2 separate regions of the Homo sapiens genome follow, and region 2 is linked to region 1. The links are contacts of gene promoters, found by promoter capture Hi-C in blood cells and fetal thymus (Javierre and others, 2016). All regions are on one chromosome and are shown on one strand. Each heading gives the region's core, a stretch centred on a gene start or on the middle of the fragment in contact. The rest is flanking DNA. Distances are from core to core; before and after follow the strand shown. Region 1 holds the start of CFAP65 (cilia and flagella associated protein 65). Region 2 overlaps NHEJ1 (non-homologous end joining factor 1).

Region 1 (5,454 bases), core at 1,027-3,526:
CAAATGCTCAAGAGGATGCTTGACCTCAATCTAAGGCACACAAAGTATCTCAGACTAGCTCTGGCTCCCTCACCTCGAATCCCCTCTTCCTTTAGCTGGCTTCTTTTAGCACACACACTCAAGTGTGACTTTGTTACCTCGACAAAAGGACAGCAATTTTCACACTCACACACCAAGACTAAGCCAGCCCCACTCAGGCACATGTGGAAGTGGTTTGCAGATCCCTATAATGACTTACCTCAAATGGTTCATCTCTGATTTCCCTTTACACTTGACATGAAGCCATCATGCATGAAATCATAGAACATGGCACTGCCCCCCAAAATATAATGCAATCCACATGTGTACTTTAAAACATTCTGGTAGCCACATTAAAAAAGTAAAAAGACACAGGTAAAATTAATTATAATGATATATTTTATTTAACCCATCATATCAAAAATACTACATTGAATATGTAATCGATATGAAATTATTGAGGTACTTTACTTTCTTATTTTGTATTAAGACTTTGAAATCTGGTGTGCATTTTACATTTACAGCACATCTCAATTTGGACTACCCATATTTTCAGTGCTGAATAGCTACATATGGCTATTGGCTACCACATTGGACAGCATCACTTTAATACCTTTTTTGAACATATGTTTATTTTTCAGACTACTCAGTATCCTCCCTCACTTCTTCAAATAACAATCTCAAAAATAATAATGTCTATTAACATGTACTGAGAATCCACGTGCCAGGCAGTGTTGTAAAGTCCTTAGAGGGATTTTATTTATTTATTTATTTATTTATTTATTTATTTATTTAAGACAGACTCTCATTCTGTTGCCCAGGCTGGAGTGCAGTGGCAAGATCTTGGCTCACTGCAACCTCCACCTCCCAGGTTCAAGCAATTCTCCCTTACAGGTATTTTAATTCTTACAACAGTTTATGATTACGTGTGACTTGCCCATTTATTTGGCCTAAAATGATCCTTTTTCAAGTTTGTCGTTTAGTTCCTTATTTTAATGTGTTCAGATTTAGCAAACAATTTCATGATCACCCTTTAGGAATTTATACAGTTCCATCAGACACTCTCTTATCCCTCCCCCACCACCCACCAACACCCTTCCAAAGCGGAAGATTCTGTTGACCCTGGTTTTCCTAGTTGGCAACATGTCTAAACCCTCTGGAGGGGACTATCTAGATTCAGTCGTTCGTTCATTCACAAAGCACTTACTATTATGTACCAGGTACTGTGCTAGGCACCAGACAAGGCAGGCAAGGCTCCTACCTCCAATTGTGAACTGGACGTTCAGATGAAATCAAAGAAATGTAAGCTGAGGAGACACAGAGAGAGTCCATTACTTTTCTGCCACGGGATGGTCTTGCAGCCCTGTCCTGACTCATTAATGCCTCTGACCTCAGGGGACTGTACAGACAGCTCCTGCCTCAGAGCTCTGAAAAAGTCTCCACTCAACACATGAAACTATTCCAGAGAGTGCATGGAAGAGATGAGAGATGATGGGGTAGAAAGCTGGTCCAACACAGGTCATAGGGCTAGGGAAGTGGTCCCAGGGCAAGGGACGCTGGGTGCCAGCATCTTCTCAGACTCTACGGGGATAGGCAAATTTCTCCATCTCCCGGAGCCTCAGCCTCCTCGCCTGTAAAATGTGGGTTATCCTGACGATTTCACAAAGTCGATGTGCAGCTCGAATGAAACAGAGGATTTGAAAAAGCACTAAACAAACACGTTATAGTAATTAACAACCATAACTTTCCCACTAGCCTGCACTATTCTTCCAAAAGACTCACACATCTGCAGTCGTTGTGAAGAGACTGGGCAAGCGAGGTTTTTTGTTTTGTTTTGGATTTGTTTTGTTTTAAATTGAAGTTTCCAATTTCGAGGACTTTAAAAAATATATATCATGAGCTTCCTTTATTTGCCTAATTGCTGATCTAAAAATCTCCAAGATGACCACTAGAAAAAGTGGCAGGTCGTCGTATAGAGTCGAGGGAGAAAGAAATAGATGAAACAAAGGGGGACAAAATACACTTAGAGCTGTTTCTTCTTTCTCTTCGGGATCCTTAGTCTGATTGATCTCGCCCAAGACTCAGTCCCATGGGGCTCTCTGAAGGGCATGGAGGGGACCTCTGGCCACGATTTCCCGAAGGATAGGGTCTCCCGGGACAGATACCTTCCCTGGCCACTCGCGCCGCTCCCTGAGACCCTGGGACCTTGGGACTAACGCTCAGAACTTACATCGCCTCCATATTGCCGTCTCCATAGATACAGGACGCGCAGGAAACGGCGTCTTCAGATATCCCAGGGCAACGACGGCAGCCCGAGTAAGTCAAGATTCGTAGAAGGCGAAGGCACCGCCCAATTTTATTTCCTATATTCAGTTTTGATTCCCTGACTTTTCCTGCTGGTAGTAACTGTGGGCTTCTACCTGTCGCGACATGGTAATGTAGAGCCTCCTAGTTGTCGTGACGTTCCAGCAATCATGACTTTAATTGACGACCAAATTCACAGGAAGCTACTCTGTGGGCTTGGCACTCTGACATGCATAGAGACAGAAGCTCATTCTCTGTGATTGCAATTGTTAACTTAAAAGCAGCCCGCAGTTATTTCTTATTTGAATATTGCTTTGCAAATAGAACCCTTTTGCTGATGAGAGGGAATGCGTCCTCTGCGTTTTCTCCCGGCATTTCTTCTTGGTCAGCAACAAGAAAAATAACTCTTTTGAAGGGATCGGAAGGTTAATGTATAAAGGAATTATTATACATAATGTAGACTTTCGGAAGCCCATTGGTTCATTTGTTGGTATGTGTGTTGGAGGAAGGGTCCTATTTTGTGAAGACTCCTTAGTAGGTGAAGCTGAAAGTCTCAAAGTTCACTCTTGGGTAACTAAGGATGTTTTGCTCCTCAAGACAGTGAACCTATTTCCTTTCAGATGGAAGGGGGGATGTGACTAGGGGGAGAGAGCTTAGTGAGTCTAGGGGTAAACACAGAAAATAAGCTATCATTTTGGGAGAGTTGGAGTTGACTTGTGAAAGGTGAAAGATGGACTGAGATGGCAAAGTGGCCTGAGCTGGCCTGGGAGATCACATGGCCAGAGACTGGCAGGGCTGGAGGGAAGGGGCAGGCAGGGCGCCTGGTAAATTACGCCAGCAGGATCAAGAGTTTTCCGGGAATCAAAGAATGTGGAACTCAGTGAGCTTTTCCCTGGATTTAATGGGATTCTCAGAATCTGAAACCTGCACTTTGGACATGACGACTTTTATGCTGTTTGTAGTTTCTATAATTATTTCCTTTTTGTTTTTCCCCAAATTCTTTTTGAAATGGTCAGCCTAACTCAGCTGGACCTTAAGGACAAGGAAAGGAACTGGTTCATTCTTAGGCGAAAATGAAATAGGGACTTTGGGGGCAGGGTTTGGTGTTGGCCCCAGGAATCTCAGTGGGAAAACTCCAAGGAGGAAGCACAGCTCATGCTAAAGGCGTCCTCGTGCCTCTTCACCGGGGAGTCTCCTTCCTGAGCTCTTGCCTGCTCAATGGTGGATTCTGGGTTTGGAAAAATTAAAGGGAATGGTTCCTCCTCTTAGCAGGGCCCCTGTAGCCTCTGCTTCTGTAAGCGTCTAGCTGCCTCCTAGAAGCCCTGATGCCTAGTGACCACAGCTGACATCAGTGGACTCCCAGGGAGAAGCCTGTGTGCTGGACTTTGCCCAGGGAGGCACACACATGGAAAGAGCCTTCACAAGGGATTGAGCCTGAGGAGGGAAAAGAGGAAGCTGAGTTTGCTTTGAAACTCTCCCTTTCCAGGAGCCTAGAACCAGTGGAATAATGGGTCCTGGGACCTGTTGATCATATTTTCCCTGGACCCAAAAATAGATCATGGGAGAGGCAGCCAAGTGCGGTGGCTCACACCTGTAATGCCCACTCTTTGGGAGGTGGAGGCTAGTGGATCAGGAGTTTGGTCAGGAGTTCAAGACCAGCCTGACCAACAGGGTGAAACCGTGCCTCTACTAAAAACATAAACATTAGTCGGGCATGGTGGCTCATGCCTGTAATCCCAGTTACTCGAGAGGCTGAGGCAAGATAATTGCTCTAACCTGGGAGGCAGAGGTCGCAGTAAGCTGAGATCGCACCACTGCACTCCAGCCTGGGTGACAGAGCGAAACTCTATCTTAAAAAAAAAAAAAATCACTGGGGAGGGTTTGCTGTTTGGTTCAAGGCTGGGTGACAATACAGAAAATTGATTATCAGGATGTAGGAGAAGGGAGGAAGGATGGAAGGGAGACGGCCTCAGATCCTCCTGGCCTGGAAGCTGGTGTGAGGAATAATAAAGGTAAAAGCACACTCCATGATTTGAACTTCGACACACATACAAATACCTTTTCTAAGCTTCTTTTTCCCAGATATCTTCCCACACCTCTATGCCCCCCATCATATAGAGAAGACCCAGGGCTGGGAAATCAGGCAGACCTGAGATTAATCCCAACTCTATTACCAACTGCCTGTGTGACCTTGGGCAAGTCACATGACCTCTCTGAGCTTCAGTTTCCTCATCTGTTACCTGGGGATAATTCTCAAAAGGCAGGTGGGAAAATTGGGTGATAAGGTATGTGTAAAGTACTTGACACATGGTAGGCAATCAACAAAACCTCTCTCTCTCTCTCACACACACACACACATACACACACACACACACACACACACACACACACACACACACACACACAGAATATTCACTAAATGGGAGGTCTCTGTAAGTAAGCCACTCAGCCTTCTGCGCACTTGCGCCTCCTACAAGCATCCAGCCTCTTGGCTGCATGCTGGAGAAGTGGGAAGTTTTTGCCATCTCCATGTCCTCCTCCTTTGTTTCTCCAAGAAGGAGCCTACCTTGCTGCTCTGGGTGGAAAAAGACAAAAGGAGACACCAGGGTGCCTGGCTATCCAGTTACAAGTCCACCCAGATCCAGCACTTAGAAAGCCCTCTCTTGCCTTTCTCCATCCTGAGATTCTGACTCCATTTTGAGTGTTGGTTCTGGAATCAGTTTGCGTTCAAGTTTGTACTTGAGGGATAGAGGTGAAAAGGTGGGCTCTCCCCACAAAAAAAGATGAGTTCATGTCCTTTGCAGGGACATGGATGAAGCTGGAAACCATCATTATAAGCAAACTATCACAAGGACAGAAAACCAAACACTGCATGTTCTCACTCATAGGTGGGAGTTGAACAATGAGAACACATGGACACAGTGGGGGGAACATCACACACTGGGGCCGGTCAGGGGGTGGGGGCTGGAGGAGGGATAGCATTAGGAGAAATACCTAATGTAAATGATGAGTTGATGGGTGCAGCAAACCAACATGGCACATGTATACCTATGTAACAAACCTGCACGTTGTGCGCATGTACCCTAGTACTTAAAGTATAATAAAAAATAAATAAAATAAAATAAAATGTAA
Region 2 (5,575 bases), core at 1,061-3,560, 100 kb after region 1:
TGAGATGACCCAGAGGAAGGAAAGTGAAGTCTCAGAGGATCAGGGACCTGATCCTGGGAAACACTAACCTTTAAGAGGCAGGCAGAAGACGGAGAGCCAGCCAAAGAAACCAATTAGAAGTGTGAACAAGCTTAACAAGATGGCAATTTTCAAGTTAAAGCATTGCCCATCTTCCCCAGGCGATATAAGCTCTAGCTTCGTAAGAGCAGCAGTGACTCTCTTCATAGTTTAAAGTATCTGCTCTAGAATCAGGCTGCAACCAGACAGGAGCTGAAGACAGTAACTAAAACTAGGCAGAATATAACAACCATGGCTGCACTTAGGATGCTAAGTCAAATCAATGTTAACTATAGCCCCCTAATTTCTTAGCTAAGGTATTATACTGAACAGATTAAGACTTATAAGGCATTCAGAATGCAGCAGTAAGAACGACTGCAGGGAAGAGAAGAGAAGAGAAGAGGAGAGAAGAGTAGAGAATTGCAAAATCTCCATCTCTGCTAAGGGACCCCTACCAAAGGAAGCCAACTTCAAGCAACTGCCCAGGTTTTGGTGTCAAGGGCTGATTCCTAGCCAGGGGTTGCCAGCTGTAGAGGGCGGGGCTCTATTTTGGGCTGCCTGCTGTCCCTGAGCCTGGCCGCGTCTGGTTTGAGCAGCATGCAGCCCCAGTGACTCACACACCCATGCAAACTGCCTGTGGCTCAGTGGCATGGCCTTGGAATGCCAGCCTTAGGCCAGCTCCCTCCTCACCCCATTACACTGGGATAAATAAATAAAGAGCCCGCCAGCAGCCACACAGCCTGATGGCAACCAGATGGAGAGAGCGAGGCATGGACAGGGCCAGGGGAAGGAACTCCCTCCAGTGGACTAGACTGAGAGTGGGCTCTGCCCAGTCATCCTAAACTTCCTTTTTCATATAGTTCCTACTGCCGTGTAACAACAGTCCCTAAGTCCCTGACTCTTCTTTCACTCCTAAAGATGCCTCTCAACCCCCAGTCCTACAAAATGCCCTATATAGGGTTCTTGGCCTCCATGAAGATCATGCCAACAGGCATCCCACCCAGGCTTGACTTGAGTCAATATTGTCAGTATCACCCTCTAGTTAGGCCACTATCAACTGGCTCCTTGGGTTCCCCAGAATTGAGAAATCAGAGGCTCTTAGACAGAGTGGAAAAACAAAAGGACCAAATAGGGAGAAGTAACCCCTGTTCAATTCTTATTTTCCCGAGCCTTAGTATCCTAGCCACCTGCCTGGCCTACTGTCCCCTGTGCCTTATTGTCTATAGCCTCTTGCCTAGTAATAATCCCAATGAGAATTTTAAAAACTGACCCCAGGCAATGACCGCATGGCCCTCTGACACCAGCCCTGGCCCCCCTGCGCCTTCATCTTGAGCTCTCTCCCTGGTTTGTTTATCTTCCTATTCCATCTTGCTTATTTTGATGGCACATCCTTTCAGTTCAGTCTTGGGTGACCCCATGACCCTTCTGTGTCCTGTTTGTAGGACCCCGGGCAAGCAGAGTAACTAAAAAGATGCAGTAGTCATAAGAAGTTCTACAGCCCCAGTAGGAAACCTTTCAGTTCCAGCAGCTATACAGGACATTCTGAGGACAGTGCAATGACCCCAGAGGTCACAAGAATTCCATATTACCCCAGCCCTTATGTCTCCCCTAACAGGTGTGTACAACCAGTTAAACTAGCAAAACAAAACAGGGATAATCCTAGACTATGTGTCAAGAAATGTGAGAAGTCCTAAACATAAAGCTACAGCTATATGACCTTAGGCAAGTCACTTAACCTCTCTGAGGCTCAACTTCTTCATCTATAAAATAGAAAGCTGTAACTACAACTACCTATCTCTCACTTCCTTTCCAGATATAATAAAATTCTACAAGTCTATGAGGTTGATCCACCCAGAACCTACAGGACCAGTATTCTTGAAGTAGCTGGTTCCAAAACACTGATACTCTTCCTGTGCTGCCACCTAAATTCTGTATGCTTTCTCATTCAATTCCGCAGGGCTCCTCCCAACCCCATAGTATGAAAACGATGAGCCTCTAATTTTATAAATGAGAAGTGATTTATCCAAAGCTGCAAAATGAGCCATGAGAATAACTGAAGACCCCAAATATAGGTCTAATAAGCAACACTGAGCCAGGTGCAGTGGCTCACGCCTGTAATCTCAGCACTTTGAAAGGCCAAGGTGGGCGGACCACATGAGGCCAGGCATTCAAAACCAGCCTGGCCAACATGGTAAAACCCTGTCTCTACTAAAACTACAAAAATTAGCCAGGTGTGGTGGTGCATACCTGTAATCCCAGCTACTCAGGAGGCTGAGGCACAAGAATCTCTTGAACCCGGGAGGCAGAGATTACAGTGAGCCGAGATCACCCCACTGCACTCCAGCCAAAAAAAAGCAACACTGTATCCACAGGCCACAGTGTCATAATCTGTATAAAATCCCCCTAGCATAGACTTATCAAAATATTAATCCAAACTTATTGAAGACTTACTACCTGTAGGCACCACGCACAGTGCTGGGGATATAGAAATGCATTCAGCATGGTCCTTGCCTCAAAGAGTCCACAGATCAGTGGAGGAGAAAGCCATAGTCTTGCAGGCATACAAACAGTAATATTACAATGTTATAAGTGGTAAAACAGAGGTATAATCCAAGGTACTATAGTAGCAGGGAAGAAGAATAGTCTTTACAAGCAGAGTACAGAACGGTCTCCCAAACAAGGTGAAGCTGACATCTAGAAGATTAATAGAAGTTTGCAAGTTAGATAAGGCCAGAACATTGGACATTCTAGATCATGGGAAGAATGTGTATCTAAAGACAAGATGAAACAGCATTGGGGCAAATTAAAAGTCATTCCATATAGCTAAGGCATAAAGTACACAGAGAAAAATGTCAAGAAGTCAAGCTGGAGAGGTATGCAGGCACTAGATCAGGAAGAGACCTCTCTACTGAGCTAAGAACAAGCCTTGCATTGTTTAACTAAGGGGATGAGGCAGGGAACCAGCATGTTATCCCCAGCCTTGATACCTAAACTTATAGACAGGGGAAGCTATCTAAGAGAAAAACGGCCTAAGAAATCTCTCTTAGTCACAAGTTTAGGTTTAACGGTCTCTCTTTACCCATAAAAACTTGAAACCTTTTCTAGGCTAGGCATGGTGGCTCACATCTATAATCCCAGTACTTTGGGAGGTCAAGGAGGGTGGATCACTTGAGGCCAGGAGTTCAAGACCAGCCTGATCAACATGGCGAAACCCCGTTTCTACTAAAAATACAAAAATTAGCTGGGTGTGGTGGTGCGCACCTGTAATCCCAGCTACTTGGAAGGCTGAGGCAGGAGAATTGCTTGAACCTGGGAAAGGGATGTTGCAGTGAGCCAAGATTGTGCCATGGCACTCCAGTCTGGGTGACAGAGCAAGTGAGGCTTCGTTTCAAAAACAACAACAACAACAACAACAACAACAAAAAGACTTGAAACCTTTTCTCTTTCAGGACTTAGCAATACAAGTTTTCCTTCTTCTTCAGACTTACAATTGCTTCAGTACCTGGACTGAGCACCTACCTCACATTTTTTGCTTTTAGTGTTTAGACCCCAAGCATTGTAGCTCAGTCAATGCACAGAGGCAGAACAGGAGGTTCCAAATAAAGAATACCTGCTTTATGCCTAGCCCTTTAAAAAGTGCTAATTTAGGGTTCAAAAGAGGTACGGGACACAGACCCTGTCCACAAAGAGCTTACAAATTAATCTAGAAGACAATAAAGAAATACAAATAATCTATACATAATACCAGATTATAATAGCATTATTTACTTACATGATAAAGTACCAACTTGGGTAACATATATAATTAGAAAATGGGGCAATAGGCCGGGCGCAGTGGCTCACACTTGTAATCCCAGCACTTTGGGAGGCCGAGGTGGGTGGTCACCTGAGGTCGGGAGTTCCAGACCAGCCTGACCAACATGGAGAAATCCCATCTCTACTAAAAATACAAAATTAGCTGGGTGTGGTGGCACATGCCTGTAATCCCAGCTACTCAGGAGGTTGAGGCAGGATAATCGCTTGAACCCGGGAGGCGGAGGTTGCTGTGAGCCGAGATCGCACCATTGCACTCCAGCCTGGACAACAAGAGTGAAACTCCATCTCAAAAAAAAATAAAAAAAAAAAAAAGAAAATGGGGCAATAATACTAAGGTACTAACTGTACAACCAACAAGTCACAGAAGAGGGAGGGAAGGAGAAGATCAATATTGACTGGCATTATCAAAGGTCACTATTATTAATACTTTCCCTATTTGGCATTTAATAGATGTTTCTTTTGGCTGAGCTCAATCCTTAGAAGGGAAACCTAGGCAGGAGCTTCTGACAGGCCACAATTATCTACTCCCCATTCATTCCTTTGCCAGTCCCCTTGTATAAACACTGTGATTTTCCACAACCTACTGTGCCCACAAGACAGCCCCCAAATGGTAGCCCTAAGCTTTTTACCTTCCTCTCCTGCAGGATCCTGAAAGGGCCTAGACAAGTAATGACGCCTACCCTTCTCCTCCACAGTCCAGACCTTACGACCAGATCTCAACAAGCAAAAATTTAATAACTGGTCAACCAACCTTTCCAAGGTTAGAGAATTCCAAATGAAATCCCTGGTACTTTAACAGAGATGTTTTATAAATATCAATCAGTCCACTTCCGCCTCTTACGTTCTTTCCCCGTTTTTTCCCTCATCTTCCCTAAGTACATCTCAAGCCTTATCAGACTTTCTATGGGCAACTTTTTCAGACAAAGGGCATTCCAACCACACAAGCCACCTAACACCCAAAACACAAATGGCCACTCAGGCACCTGGAAAGAGGAAGTAGGGCAAAGACACACAAGAAAATGACAAATACCTTACCTCTATCATAAATTGTTCCAAGAAGGAATTTTCTTCAAATGGTTCTGTCTTCAATCGATCTGTAATAAGAAGGATCAGAAAAAAGAAATATGAGTCATACAGGATGAGTTTCTTACCTGATGGAAAGGGAACAGAACAGGGCTACTTAGGAAAGAGGAGGAAGGTGCATCATGCAGAGACACCTAGTTCAGTGGGAGAAGAAGGGCTGAGAGCATGTGGGCAAAAAGTAGTGGGAGAGGGTGATTAGCAATAAATGGCAGGTTTGGTGGCAGCATCTGCTCTAGGAGTTTTTCCTGCCACAAAAACAAAGGCCAAATTGAATTTTTATTCTGAAGTTGGAGCCATGAAGCTTCCTAAACTCCCAAGTCCATGTTGCTCTGGTACAATTCTGTATAGCTATTGGCTCCTTTCCAAAGTCTTTCCCTGCCATTGCCTAGGGCATGTCTGGACTCGGTTACAGCTTCTATTGGCCACTTGGGCTCCAGCCAGGTACTCGAGGCAGAGAAAAGTGTCACCTAGGCCAGGCACGGTGGCTCACGCCTGTAATCCCAGCACTTTGGGAGGCCAAGGCAGGCAGATCACTTGAGGTCAGGAGTTCGAGACCAGCCTGACCAACATGGTGAAACCCCGTCTATATTAAAAATACAAAAAAATTAGCCAGGCATGG

Evidence for each region. The method cuts DNA at HindIII sites, captures the fragments that hold promoters and counts their contacts. A CHiCAGO score of 5 or more calls a contact.
Region 2: a fragment that was not itself captured here is called in contact with the fragment with the promoter of CFAP65 in region 1 in 2 of 17 cell types (total CD8 T cells and erythroblasts); the score reaches 5.2 in total CD8 T cells.

What each region holds. Positions count from the first base shown.
Region 1 is chr2:219,039,240-219,044,693 of GRCh38, forward strand. CFAP65 (cilia and flagella associated protein 65) reads right to left here and starts at 2,277. Exons shown (of 35, transcript NM_194302.4): 1 at 2,249-2,277; 2 at 1,280-1,325. The HindIII fragment of the contact is 30,940 bases long and covers 1-4,388 here.
Region 2 is chr2:219,141,772-219,147,346 of GRCh38, forward strand. It overlaps NHEJ1 (non-homologous end joining factor 1), which reads right to left. Exons shown (of 8, transcript NM_024782.3): 5 at 4,909-4,967. Among named protein-coding and RNA genes, the nearest start is that of NHEJ1, 16 kb to the right of the region's middle. The HindIII fragment of the contact is 4,364 bases long and covers 129-4,492 here.